Linked DNA regions of Homo sapiens: regions 2, 3, 4 and 5 are each linked to region 1. The links are contacts of gene promoters, found by promoter capture Hi-C in human tissues and cell types (Jung and others, 2019). All regions are on one chromosome and are shown on one strand. Each heading gives the region's core, a stretch centred on a gene start or on the middle of the fragment in contact. The rest is flanking DNA. Distances are from core to core; before and after follow the strand shown. Region 1 holds the start of WDR4 (WDR4 tRNA N7-guanosine methyltransferase non-catalytic subunit). Region 2 has its middle 12 kb from the start of CSTB. Region 3 overlaps HSF2BP (heat shock transcription factor 2 binding protein). Region 4 overlaps ABCG1 (ATP binding cassette subfamily G member 1). Region 5 holds the start of SIK1 (salt inducible kinase 1).

Region 1 (2,691 bases), core at 136-2,635:
GTGGCTTCTTGGGCATGGAGAGCACCTGAATCAGATTCTTGAGAAGCCCATAAAGCTTTTAAGGGACTTGTAGTGAACAAAGCACCACCAGCTGCCAAAATGTGGACAGAACAGTTTAGAGTGAAAAAAGGTCTGTGGGCTCACAATTTGCTAATGACAGGAAGGAGGTTGAGAAAGTTTCTCAAAGGGCACATTCTTCAACATGGCCAAGAAGGTGCTGGAAAAGGAGGGACACCCAAGAGGGCAGAGGCAAGAGCTGTGCTGAGATACAGCCTGGGGAGATACTCCCAGGAAGCAGAACTCGGGCCTGGTTAAGACTTCTTATTCTTGTAGGGCCTGAAAACATCTTCCAGTAGGATTTCAGAATTGCTTTGGACCAGTGATTACTGTGTCTCCTCCTCTTCTCATTTTCACATGCAAGTATTTATTGTGGTTATCTGGTCCCGGCTCACCATCATATATTGCGTGCACGGGAGAGAAAATTAATCTTTTTAGTTTGTAAGTCTCTGGATCAAGAGGAGCTGCACCGGACAAGCCAATCTAAAACAGACCGTGAGATCCTAGATTTTGTGCCTGATGCTGGGATTGTAAGAGGCTTTTGGGGATCTTGGGATGAACACTGGAAACTAACCATAGTTTGGGTTGAAAATATCACTACAGTTCGGAGATTTTAAGGCATCTGTGGCTTGTCTAAGTGCAAAGATTCAGTAGGCTTACTTCTAGCGACCTCAGACTTGACGCCACCCGAGACACCCTCACCCATGACCACATCTTGGACATTTTTTTTTTTTTTGAGAGAGAGTCTCGCTCTGTCGCCCTGGCTGGAGTGCAGCGGGGGCGATCTCGACTCACTGCAACCTCCGCCTCCCGGGTTCAGGCAATTCTTCTGTCTCAGCCTCCCAAGTAGTTGGGGCTACAGTCGCACGCCACCACGCCCAACAAATTTTTGTACTTTTAGTAGAAACGGGGTTTCACCATATTGGTCAGGCTGCTCTCGAACTGCTGACTTCATGTGAGCCACGGCCCCCGGTTCATTCACTTCTTGAAGGATCATTTACCAGGCATCTAGTAGCCATCATCAGGTCCTACGTCTCTCCAGCTACCGCGGAAAAAGATCCAGAACCAGCCCTACCCCGTCTAGAGGAAAGGATGAACATTAGGCAAGTACTTGGAATCGTGCGAAGTGCACTCCATCAGATCACCTTGGTGAGTGAACTGCCAAACCCGAAACACCGAAGGCCACCAGCCACAACCCGGAGGGCGGTCACAGCACCTTTCACGCATGCTCAAGGCAGGCTCGTCCTTGAGCATGCGCGGTACGTGGGGTATACGTCATCTCTCGGCGTCTGCGCCTGGCGTCACCGACCGGTGCGGACAGGAAGAGGCTCTGGGCTGGCACATGTGTATGGCGGTGAGGCGGGCGGGTACATGGCGGGCTCTGTGGGACTGGCGTTGTGCGGGCAGACGTTGGTGGTGCGGGGCGGCAGCCGATTCCTGGCCACCTCCATAGCAAGCAGGTGAGGGGGCCTTGGTCTTGGAACAGGGAGACCAGGCTGCGGGCGCGCGTCGGGTCCTGGCGACCCCGCTTCTCCCGCACCGCCTGGTCGCACCCACTCTGGGGTGACCCCGGGGAACTCCGCTCCAGCCCACGAGTCCTCCGCCGCAGTCTCGGCCTGGCCGCGTCTCTGCGCCTGGAGGGTCCGCTTTCGCCGTCCGCTCTCGGCGTCCGCTCCCCGGCTCCGGCGCGCTCCTTGCACTAGATGGCTGGTCTGCGGTGTTCTTGCCCGGTTAGCGCCGCCGGGTCGCTTCCGGTCTCCGCGGCGCCGGCGGGGACCGGGTAGGTAGAGCACGTGGGGCGACGCTGACCAGTCAGCAAGGCCCGGCCGAACACGCTCTGCAGAACTGGGAAGAAGCGGGTCTCGGGTCTCCCTGGTGAGAAGGGAGGGGCTTACTCACTGCGAGCTCACTGACCTCCAAGCGCGCTCCCTCTTTTTGCAGGGTTGTCTGTTCCCTCTTCCCGGCCTGCATCCACTCACCTGGCCTTAATTGCTCCTTAGGGCTCCAAGTCATCTCCGACACTTACCCAACCCAAGGGTGCACGTGGAGCTCGCAGTGCGCACCTCCCTAGTGGCCCTTCGCACGGCTCGGGTTTTGCTTTCCGTAATTTTATTCTCCTTCCTTAGTGTATCGCCAGTGCTAGGACGACGCAGGGGATTTTTAACTTAGTAAATGTTTGTTGATGGAACAGTCCTAACTCAGGACTCTCGGAGCAATTAGTAGTGCTGTCAGTTTCAGCCCCTCGTTTCCTTTCCCAGGTTATTTGTGATTTCATATTTGAAACGGACGACGTGTCTGTCAGATATACTGTATATTTTTTGTTCGTTTGGTTTTAGAAAGCCAATTCGATGTTAAGTTAGGTCTCACAAAAATTGTACTCAGAAACCCGTCACATATCCCAGATGATTTTGTTTTAGAGACTCACGGTCTAATATCTGCCAGAGTGAGCTGTGGATATATTAGACATGATTTGCTTACCTTCAGTCTTTGCATTTTGAGGAAATTCTAGTGGCTGGTGGAGTTTCTGACTTGGAAGACAAGTCCACGGTTCCATATGGAAAGTTTTTTGGTGCACTCGCTTTAAAGGCTATAAATATGTACAAGATACGTGCCAGGGGGTGAGGATGGGATAAA
Region 2 (2,691 bases), core at 58-2,557, 880 kb before region 1:
TTGCAGGACATCATTGAATTTGGGGGGGACACCTGTCCAGGCTCAGTGTCCTCAACAGTGCTGCCTTTATAATCACAGCCTGAACTGTACCCTTCAAATGGCTGAGTCATATGGAATGAATTGTAACTCAATAAAGCTGTTACCAGAAAAAACAGAAATAAGAGCCAGGAGTGGTGGCTCACGCCTGTAATTCCGGCACTTTGTGAGGCCGAGGAGGAAGGATCACTTGAGCCCAGGAGTTCGAGACCAGCCTGGGCAACATGGCAAGACCTCATCTCTACAAAAAAATTGTTTAATGAGCTGGACGTGGTGGTGTGCCTGTGGTCCAGCTACTCGGGAGCCTGAGGCGGGAGGATGGCTTGAGGCCAATTGCTTGGACAGAAGTTGCTGTGAGTTGAGATCACACCACTGCACTCCAGCCTGGGTGACAGAGTGAGAACCTGTCTGGAAAAAAAAAAAAAAATAGAAATAAGGAAAGAGAAGTCTGTCTCCCATCCCTTCCCCCAGCTCTTTGGCAGGGGCACGGGCTTGGTGGGAGCTGGCATGGATGGGGGCATGAGCAGGGCAGTGCGCAGGGGCCTGGGCCGGCCTCGTGGAGGTGACGGCTGTTTCAGGGCCAGCCTGAGTCCGCACCTTGTGAGGGAATCTCCTCAATGCAGTAATTTAGGCAGAATTCCAGCTGGGGTGAGGTGGCCTGTAATCCCAGAGGCCTCCGGAAAGTGCAGCCTACCGGATGCTGGCCAGGCCCGGCCTGTCCCCACAAGTGTCTTGGAAAGGCCCTACCAGGGTGGAGGACACGGGTGGCAGCAAACCCTGAAGGTCAGTCCATCCCAGCGAGTGTGTGACAGGTGTTCACTGGGGCCAAAGGAAGACCCCGAGCCCCAGGGAGGTGTCAACAACCACACTCTGCTGGTGGTGTCCCCAGAGAAGCCCCGGGAGCCTAACTGCCCATGAGGTTCCTTCTCTCCCTTCCCAGCCTCCCTCCATCTGCCGTCCCCACCCCCACGCCACTGGAGCCCAGCCCCTTTCCTAGGAACCCAGATTTGAAGCCCTAAGCCAGCATGGCCTCAAGGGCAGGTCCTGGACTTGAGGCCGGCCTTTCCCACCCATCGGGGGAAGAAGGCCCAGCCAGAGTCCTCACAATGGCTGAGGCTTCAGGGCCGAGCATGTTTGCTGCTGGATATTTGGCTCAGACCCTCGGAGGGGGAGATGACCAAGCCAGCACATGCCCCACCCCTGGACACGCCACAGCAGTTCCAGCTTGGAGGCTAACCCACCCTGTTGTTGTCTGATGAACCCCAGTTCTAGGAAGGCCTCTCAGATTTTCAGCTCATCTATTGTTCCTTGTGTAAAGGCAGGTACTTACCCTAAATCCTGCCCTTAGGGCAAATGACTGGGATGCTGTCTGCTTCAACTGTCCAGCACATCCCTTCTGAACCACACGCACCCCTCCCCTACGGTACATAAGCCCTAGGCTTGGGGGTGATGGGTGGGCCCCAGACACAGACATGGCTTCTGTTCCGAAGTCCCTATTAAATGTTTCTTTCTGAGAAACTGGATTGGGCAGCTTCTTCTTCTTCTTCTTTTTTTTTTTTTTTTTGAGATGGAGTCTTTGCTCTGTTTCCCAGACTGGAGTGCAGTGGTGCGAACTCGGCTCACTGCAACCTCCACCTCCGGGGCTCAAGCGATTCTCCTGCCTCAGCCTCCCGAACAGCTGGGATTACAGGCGCCCGCCACCATGCCCAGCTAACTTTTGTATTTTTAGTAGAGATGGGGTTTCACCATGTTGGCCAGGCTGGTCTTGAACTCCTGACCTCGTGATCCACCTGCCTCAGCCTCCCAAAGTGCTCGGATTACAGGGCTGAGCCACTGCACCTGGCCAAGGGCAGCTTCTTTCTTCGGCCTCTCTGCTTCCTTGAACTTCGGGATAGGTCTGCATAGGCCCCCACTGCTGCAGAACACACTCCATCCCTCGTCACCAGACGTGGTGGGCTGAATCATGGCCCTCAAAGAGGTCCACATCTTCATCCTCAGACCCTGTGAATTTGTGACCTTACCTGGCAAAAGGGACTTGCAGGTGGGATTAAATTCAGGTTCCTGAAATGAGAGATGACCCTAAATTATCTAGGTAGGTCCAAAGTCACACAGGGTCCTTCTAAGAGAAAGGGCGGAGGTCAGGGTCAGGGAGAGGTGGAAAGATGTGACACTACTGGCTTTGGTGATGGAAGGGGCCATAAGCAAGGGGATGCAGGCGCCCTCCAGATACTAAAAAAGGCAGGAAACGGATTCAGCCCCTCTAAGCCTCCAGGAGGAACCAGCCCTGCTGACTGTTTTTAGACTCTTCTGGCCCCTGCAACTGTAAGAGAACAAATGTGTTCCTTTAAGCCACTCAGCTTGTGGAAATTTGTCACAGTAGCCTCAGGACATTTTCATGCCAACCAGGATTAGGCCCGTAGGCCCAGAGTAGCCACTGCAGGGGACAGGAGCACTGCAGGCAGCAGTGTGCTAGACGCGGAGCAAATCCCATAAACGAGGCAGCAGACACCCTGCCCCGGCCGCCCCGTGCCCTCCCCTGTGTGCTCTGTGGTCTGGGGTCTGTGGCTCCTGGTGTTCTCCATGGGGAGGGGCGTCCAGAGGGGGTCCTCATTGGGGAGGGGCTGGTTCTGCAGCCCCTGGTTCCGCCTTCTCCTT
Region 3 (2,691 bases), core at 83-2,582, 760 kb before region 1:
AGCTAATTTTTAATTTTTTTTGTAGAGACAGGTTCGCTATGTTACTCAGGCTGGTCTTGAACCCCTGGGCTCAGTTGATCCTTTGGCCTTGTCCTCCCAAAGTGCTGGGATTACAGGCATGAGCCATGGGTGCCTGGCAGAGACTGACTTTCACTCAGATACATCCAAGTTGCATGTATCGTTAGATATTTTTATTGCCTCATATTCCATGGTATGTATATGTTGCAATTTGTTTGCAATATGTTGTAATTCCTCCACTGAAAGAAGTTTGAATAGTTCTTACGGTTTTTTTTTCTATTACTGATAAAGACACTAGTAACATCCATGTATAGGTTTTTGTGTGAATGTGTGTCTTTATTTTTGTGTGATAAATGCCCGAGAGTACAATTACTGGGTTGTATGGTAAGTGCACATTTAGTTTTGGAAGAAATTGCCAAATTGTTTTCCAGAGTGTCTGTACCATTTTAGAGTCCCACCAAAATGTATGAGTGATTCACTTTCTCCATGTCCTAACCAGTATTTGGTGTTATTCTATTTTGAATTTTAGTCATTTTGATAGGTTTGTTGTGGTTTTAATTTGCATTTCCCTAACAGCTAATGATGTTGAGCATCATTTCATGCATTTATTTTCTGTCTGTGTATTCTCTTTTATGAAATGTTTTTTTCGTGTCTTTTACCCATGTTCTAATTGGATTTTTTCTTTTTTTACTTTTGCGTTTGAGCTCTTGATATATTCTAGATAGAAGTCCTTTGCTGAGTATATGTTTTGCAAGTCTTTTCTCCCAGTCTGTAGCTGCTCTTTTCATCTTCACAGGTTCTTTCAAAAAGCGAATGTTTTAAATTTTAATGAAGTCCAATTTACTGATTTCTCCTTTTATAGACTGTTTTCTTGTTGTTATGTCTAAGAATTTTTCACATAGCTCTAGGTCACCACAATTTTCTCCCATTCTTTTTTCTTAATGGTTTTATAGTTTTACATTTTACATTTAAGTCTATGATTCATTTTGAGTTAATTTTTGTAGAAGGTATGAGGATTAAGTTCAAGTTAATATTTTTTTCTTTGGCTTATCGTTGTCCAGTTGCTTCAGCACTGTTTCTCAAAAAGACTCTCTCTCCTTCATTGAATTGCTTTTGCACCATTGTCAAAATTCAGTCATACTGGCCTGGGTCTGTTGTGGGTTCTCTACTCAGGTACTTTGATCTGTTCCTGCACCAATAATACATTATTCTGATTACTGTAGCGACATAGTAAGCCTTAACACTGGATAAAATGATTCTTCCCATTTCATTCCTCTTTTTCAGAGTTGCCCTAACTATTCTAGCTTCTTTGCTTTTCCGCATAAATTTTAGAGTAAGCTTGTTTATGTCTACAAAAACCTTGCTGGAATTTTAATAGAAATTGTGGTACGTTTGTAGATCAGTTTGTAGAGAATTGATATCTTTACTATGTTGAATCTTTCAATTCATAAACATAGCATGTCTCTCCATTTCTTTAAGTTGTCTTTAATTTCTTTCATCAGCAGTTTACAATTATTTTCAGCATCTAGATTTGTGTTAGATTTTTACCTAATTATTTTCAGCATACACATTTGTATTAGATTTTTACCTAAGTATTTAATTTTATTTGGAGTAACCGTAAATGGTATTGTGTTTTTAATTTTGGTTTCCATTTTTTAATTAGCACATAGAAATGTGGTTGCTTTTTGTTTGTTTATCTTGTCCCCCAGGCTGGAGTGCAGTGGTGTGATCGCAGCTCACTACAACCTCTGCCTCTCAGGTTCAGGCAATTTTCCTGCCTCAGCCTCACGAGTAGCTGGGATTACAGATGTGCGCCACCATGCCTGGGTAATTTTTGTATTTTTAGTACAGACACAGTTTTACCATGTTGGCCAGGCTGGTCTCGAATTCCTGACCTCAAGTGATCCGCCTGCCTTGGTCTCTTGGTGCTGGGATTACAGGTGTGAGCCACCGCACCCGGCCCCTGTAGTCTTTCTGAACTCTTTTTGACTTCTAGGAGTTCTTTTATGGATTTCTTGAGATTTTCTACATGGACAATCATGTCATCTGAAAATAGGGGCTGTTCTAGTTCTTCATTCTGCTTTGTATACCTTTTATTTCTTCCTCTTTCCTTCTTGCGTAGCCAGGCCTTCCAGCACTACAGCACTGTGCTGAATAAGAGTGGTGAGAGTGGATATCTTTGCCTTGTTCCTGATCTCAGGGGAAAGTATTCAATCTTTCAGCGTTAATTATGATTTTAGCTGTAGGTTTTTGCAGATGCGTTTATAAAATTGAGAAGGTTCCCCTCTATTCCTAGTTTGCTGAGTTCCTTTTTTCTTTCTTTTTTTTTTTTCCAGAGACAGGGCCTCACTCTGTAGCCCAGGCTGGAGTGCAGTAGTGTGATCAAAGCTCACTGCAGCCTTGAACTCCTGGGCCCAAAGGATCCAATTGCCTGAACCTCCTGAGTCTATAGGCATATGCCACCATACAGCTAATTTTTTTTTTTTTTAAGTTTTTGTAGAGATAGGGTCTTGCTGTGTTGCCAAGGCTGGTCTCCAAGTTCTCTCTCTTGTCAAGTGAACCTCCCACCTTGGTTCCTTAAAATGCTGGGATTACAGGCATGAGCCACTGGGCCTGACTGAGAATTTTTATTTATTTATTTATTTATTTATTTTTATAATTACTGAGTGTTGG
Region 4 (2,691 bases), core at 192-2,691, 650 kb after region 1:
GCCACTGTGTCGGAGTGCACAGAGCTAGAAATTGCTGTCCTCATCCCAGCCCTGCCCCTTTCAAGCCCAGGAGCATGGGCAAGTCCCTTAACCACCTTTGTCTCAGTTTCCTTTCTATTCTGTGTGCTGGAGTGATAAACCATCTAGACTCTGAATTGTAGGCACCAGGAACAAAGGAAAGGATGGGGCAGGCAGGGGAGGAGGAGCAGGGAGAGGGAAGACAGACGCAGGTGCTGCTGTGGCTGGGGAGGGCAGTGGGTAGGAAGCCAGACAGCAAAACTACCCTTGGCCCCTGCAGAAACCAGCAGCTGGAACACAGCAGACATATCCTGTCTGTCAACCCCTCTGGCTCCACCCATTTCTGAGTCATGGGCAGGTCCCTCGGCGGCCCATTGCAGGCTCTTCCCCTGCCTGAGCACACAAGGTTACTGTAGGGCAAGTCTCTATCTGGTGGCCACCCCGCCCGGGCTGCGCTCCTAAGAATGGACAGTTGGGGCTCCTCCCTCACTACAAGCCATTACCAGCTGGCTAACTGTGATGATTCATGTGATCAGTTTAAACACTTAGAGAATATAGGGGTGACAAGTCACATACTGGGTGATGTGGTTTGGCTCTGTGTCCCCACCCAAATCTCATCTTGAATTGTAATCCCCACGTGTCAAGGGAGGGACTGGGCGAGAGGTGTGATTGGATCCTGGGGGCGGTTCCCTCATGCTGTTCTCATGATAGTGAGGGAGTTCTCATGAGATCTAATGTTCTAAATGTGTGTGGGTTCTTTTATGCTCTCTCTCTCTCTCTCCCCTCACCCCATGCCACCATGTAAGACATGCCTTGCTTCCCCTTCACCTTCTGCCATGATTGTAAGTTTCCTGAGCCCTCCCCAACCATGCCAAACTGTGAGCCAATTAAACCTCTTTCCTTTAAAAATGACCCAGTCTCAGGTAGTTCTTTATAGCAGTGTGAAAATGGACAAACACACTGGGTAGGGGAGCGATACTCACTGCTTGCAAACACTGGCTACACCTGTGTGCCAGGCTTATGCCAAGACATTTCAAACCCAGATGCCACCAGGTTTCAGATGTCTTCATTTCTGCATTACAACCCATCTTCATTTTACAAGACACCTTTCCCAGCATTTTCTACTGTCATGACAACATTTCCAAGGCCACACATAACAGACGGACAGGAATCGCTCTATGTTGCTCACTGCTTTGCCATAATTTGTCTATATAGACAAACGACGCCAAAACATGACGCGGTGTCCTGGTTTCTTGATACATTTTTCTATAAAATATTTCTTTAAGTTGAGAAGGAGAATTCTAGAACCCTATGTTGAAATTTCAACATGATCAAAGGAGTGGGCCCACATCTGAGCCTGCCACAGAGCTGCTTTCTTAACAGAACAGGCTGGTATGCTCTGAAAATGCAAGTATCACATCACAGTGCTATACTGTTGTCTGTTGAGAAGGTACTGAATCTGTTTCTGCTTGTGCAAACACAGACATACAGTTACCCAGCCACCAACTGGGCTTGCAGATCCCAGGGACCAGTCTTTCAAAGCTCTAAAATTGTGATTACAATGAAGATGGGACTGCCCATGCTAAGGGTCTCAAAGACTTAGCTTCAAGAGGGTAGAAAAACAAAAAGAAGATAATAGGGAAAAGAAGAAAGACAACTGAAAATTTAAAACGTGAGTCTTGATTGGTCTTCTTCAAAATGAAAGAAGGGCTGAATCCAGTTTTAAGTTCAAAGTCCTAAAATATTAGCATATTCCAGGGGTACCTGAGTCATTTGTATTGTTCCAAAGTCCTCCCAGATTTTCAAATTGCTTTCCATGATTCAGTAGAAACTAGGGACCATGGTTTCTTGATGAAGTCTGACACGTCCTCTGCCTATCAGCTCCCCCAACCCACCTGTCTGATCCACTTAGGAGCAGACAATGAGTGCTTGGAGCATAAGGAGATGAAGGATAAATTCCACAGAAGAAACAGATCAGGCTTGAAAAAAACACACCAACCCAGGGCGGCATTAACTCCACAAACTGTGAAACTCTAGAGCTAGGGAAGGTTGCTGAGAAAACTCAAACTACCACTCATCAATTTCCTGTAACATGCAACAAGCTAGTGGCAAACTCCTGCACTGTGTGGCGTTCCAGACACCTCCTGAGCTCTATCCTCTCTGTTTTTTCTATTTTTATGTATCAGCTCTTTTCAACAGTTTAGTTTTCTTTCTAGCCTACCACAACCACCCACAAAAGAATCCTTTCAAGATGGGTCTCTGGAGAGGTCAGTCTAGGTCACTGGCCACTTTTTAACACTTCACGCTTGGGAGGGGGGCACCTGTCCCCCATTTTGCTCTGGGCGGTTGAAAAACAGTTCCATCTTGAAAGATGGACATGAACAGCATCCACAAAAGAGGACTCTCTCAGCACATGCCAGAAACAGGCACACTTTGACACCCGTCAATCTTTGTGAAATTCTCCATAATGACATCGCAGAATTTCAGAGCAACCATGAACTTTGAGATCACCAAATCCAACCTGTTCATTTTATAGGAGAGGAAAATTCAGGCAGAAAGCAATAGAATAAATTGACCACAGCAGTGACGGCGTTGGGAAGAGAAGCTCAGCCTCTCAACCTCCAGACCCCGATTTTGCCCAAACAACCTGTTGCCTCCTTCAGAGGCTCCTCC
Region 5 (2,691 bases), core at 192-2,691, 550 kb before region 1:
CTAGGAGCGGATTAACAGGGTGTTGGGACCTCCAAAAGGAAAAAAGGCAGTTGTACACTGTTCAGCTGAAAGGAACTAAAAATATTCCCCCGTATTCTTGGTATATAAACCTGGGACAAAGAAAAACACTCTGAACGATTAAGGAAAACTTTGGGACTCTTCATTTCCTTGAAAGCCTTTGAAAACCAACTGACTCCCAAACAACCCGTGTGTGTGTGTGTGTGTGTGTGTGTGTGTGTGTGTGTGTGGCGATTGGGAAATCTGTGGTCAGACCCTCGGGCGAATGAGGAGAAGCTCATCCTCGTTTCTCCGGGCCCTCCTCCCAGGCGTCCGTCCAGGCAGGAAAGCCTCCCGAGAAGGGTTCCAAGTTTTGTGCCAACTCCCCTGAATTCTCGTTCCCCCTTCTGTGAAGTAGTGTTATTTAACACAAGGAAAACTGACCCTAGGCTCGATCCAGAATCTAACTCCCAAATGGGTCCTCAGGCTTAAAAAATACCTTCGCCCACAGCCTCTGTCTCCCCTGAAGAAAACGTTTTCCGTTCGGATGAGGCATCGGCCACGGGCAAGCAAGTGGTCCCGCGCCCCCGTCCCCTACCCAGGCGGCCGGCCTGGCTCCGTCACCGCCCGCAGCGTCCGCCCGGGGCCCGCGCGGGAAGAGGGTCCCAGCCCCACATGCTGCGGGGGCAGCCCCGGGACGCGCAGACGCCAGCGCCGCTGAGGGCCGGGGCCGGGACCGGCCGCGCGGCGGGGGCTTCCAGAGCGGCCGGTCACGCTTCCTTAGGTTTCAAGTTTCTAACTTGCTGAACATTTCAGATTTTAACAGCAAAAGCGGCTGACGTCCCCGCGGGCAAGCGGCCTCTCGGGGTCTGCAGCGCCCCAGGGCATCCGCGCCGCCAGCCCCACGCGCGAGCCCGCGAGGCCCCCGGGCCCCCGCACGTCCCGAGGCTCTGAGTCTGGACGAACGCAGGCCGCGTGGAGGGGCCGGCGACCCCTGCCCGAGAGCCGTCCCCTCCTGGAGGGAGCGAGCACAAGGCGCCCGCGGGACCCGGCCCGAGTGCCCGAGCGTGGAGGGGCGGGCGCGCCCTCGGCGGTGGGGCCGCCCGCAGTGCCCCCAGCGCCCGGGAGGGGGCGCCCGGCGGAGCGCAGGCGGGCGGGCCTCGGGCGGCGGGCGCCCCTGACGTCACCGGCCCGCGGTCGCCAGGGCAACGGCCTCATCCCGCGCGCGTCAGAGCCGCCAGTCTCTTGGCAACCGCCCGATCTCCCGCTCTCCCTCCGCCCGGCGCTCGGCCGCGCGTCGCTCTGGCGTCAAAGCGACGTCAATGGGCGGCCCCCGCCCGGGCGGCGGGGGCGGGGCAGGGGGCGGGGACTACGGGGGGCGGGCCGGGGCGGGCCGGGGCGGGGCCGGGCGCCGCGTGCGGCGGAGCGCGGCGGCTCCGGGCTGACATGCGGCGCGGCCCCGGAGGCAGCAGCAGCGGCGGCGGCAGCCGGAGCAGTAGGCACCCGAGCAGCGCCAGCGGCCGAGCGGGCGGCTTCCTGGCCTGGGCGCTCCGGTGGCGGCGGAGGTGAGGCGGCGGCAGCGGCGGCAGCGGCGGCAGCGGCGGGCTCCGGGCGGGCGGAGGTGGCCGCCGTGGGGGCTCCGCGCGGGCGCCGGGCCGGGGCTCGGGGTTGCAGCCACCGCGCAGGGTCCCTGGCCTTGCGCGCGCGGGGTTCGCGGGCGGGGTTGGCGGCCTGGCCGCCCTCGGGCTCCCCTTTGTTGGGGGGCCGGGGTAGGAGTGAGTCCGCGGGGCTCAGGGGCTGGGGAGCCGGGGGTCAGGTTGGAGCCGACCGCGGGCGGAGATACCGGGTGTGGGGGGCGGGTCCGCGATCCCCGAGGTGCCTGGGATGTCGGGGGTGGGGACCGGACGGATCGCGGGCGGCGGGGGCAGGGTGTGGGAGCGGGGCAGGGGACGGTCCTGGGATCCGGATCGAGCCGACCTCGGGTGGCAGGGCCAGGTGTGGGAGCGGGTCCGCGCCCAGAGGTGCTAAAGGGGTCGAGGGTGGGGACGGAACCGACAGCGGGCGGCGGGAGGCGAGTGTGGAATCCCGGCTCAGGGGGTCCCGGGATCGGGACGGAACCGGACTCGGGCGGCAGGGGCCTCTATGAGAGCGGGTCCGTGCGCCCCGCGGGGCTCAAGAGGGTCGGGGGTCCGGGTGGAGCGGGCGGCGGGGGCGGGTCCACACCTCCCACGGGGCTGGAGGGGCCCGTGGATAGAGTGGGGGCGACAGGCGTGGGAGCAGGTCCCTGCGTCCCGTGGGGACTGGGGGCTCCGCGGGCACGGATGGAGCCGACCGCGGGCGGCGGGGGCGCTGGTGGGCTCTGAGCTCTGTGCGGCCCCGCAGGTGCGCGCGGAGCCATGGTTATCATGTCGGAGTTCAGCGCGGACCCCGCGGGCCAGGGTCAGGGCCAGCAGAAGCCCCTCCGGGTGGGTTTTTACGACATCGAGCGGACCCTGGGCAAAGGCAACTTCGCGGTGGTGAAGCTGGCGCGGCATCGAGTCACCAAAACGCAGGTGCGTGGGGGCGGTGGGACCCAGCCGGCGGGGCCTCCCCACTGGACCCGGGGCGACCCGACCTTTGGCGGGTGGACCCCATGCAGATTCACTGCTCCAGGCTTGATTGTCGTGGTGGGTAAATAGTAACCGTTTTTAGTTC

The links. Contacts are between HindIII fragments. The study calls those that stand out against the background at their distance.
Region 2: a fragment that was not itself captured here is called in contact with the fragment with the promoter of WDR4 in region 1 in 1 of the 25 tissues and cell types used here (lymphoblastoid cells).
Region 3: a contact is called between a fragment that was not itself captured here and the fragment with the promoter of WDR4 in region 1, in 3 of the 25 tissues and cell types used here (lymphoblastoid cells, mesendoderm cells and spleen).
Region 4: a fragment that was not itself captured here is called in contact with the fragment with the promoter of WDR4 in region 1 in 2 of the 25 tissues and cell types used here (hippocampus and spleen).
Region 5: a contact is called between the fragment with the promoter of SIK1 here and the fragment with the promoter of WDR4 in region 1, in 6 of the 25 tissues and cell types used here (hippocampus, lymphoblastoid cells, mesenchymal stem cells and 3 more).

What each region holds. Positions count from the first base shown.
Region 1 is chr21:42,878,233-42,880,923 of GRCh38, reverse strand. WDR4 (WDR4 tRNA N7-guanosine methyltransferase non-catalytic subunit) reads left to right here and starts at 1,385. Exons shown (of 11, transcript NM_018669.6): 1 at 1,385-1,517. The coding sequence starts at 1,429. It overlaps LOC105372817 (a long non-coding RNA gene), which reads right to left and starts at 1,212. Exons shown (of 4, transcript XR_937765.3): 1 at 1,169-1,212. RefSeq lists enhancers at 1,133-1,482, 1,553-1,662, 1,693-1,742, 1,395-2,359, 2,360-2,691. The HindIII fragment of the contact is 11,595 bases long and covers 1-2,691 here.
Region 2 is chr21:43,762,793-43,765,483 of GRCh38, reverse strand. No RefSeq gene overlaps it. Among named protein-coding and RNA genes, the nearest start is that of CSTB, 12 kb to the left of the region's middle. RefSeq lists enhancers at 45-790, 791-1,536. The HindIII fragment of the contact is 5,686 bases long and covers 1-2,691 here.
Region 3 is chr21:43,637,467-43,640,157 of GRCh38, reverse strand. All of the region lies in intron 4 of HSF2BP (heat shock transcription factor 2 binding protein), which reads left to right. Among named protein-coding and RNA genes, the nearest start is that of HSF2BP, 21 kb to the left of the region's middle. The HindIII fragment of the contact is 7,158 bases long and covers 1-2,691 here.
Region 4 is chr21:42,225,948-42,228,638 of GRCh38, reverse strand. All of the region lies in intron 2 of ABCG1 (ATP binding cassette subfamily G member 1), which reads right to left. Among named protein-coding and RNA genes, the nearest start is that of ABCG1, 8.2 kb to the right of the region's middle. RefSeq lists enhancers at 1-223, 414-463. The HindIII fragment of the contact is 8,263 bases long and covers 1-2,691 here.
Region 5 is chr21:43,425,881-43,428,571 of GRCh38, reverse strand. It overlaps SIK1 (salt inducible kinase 1), which reads left to right and starts at 1,441. Exons shown (of 14, transcript NM_173354.5): 1 at 1,441-1,562; 2 at 2,380-2,549. The coding sequence starts at 2,394. The HindIII fragment of the contact is 13,239 bases long and covers 1-2,691 here.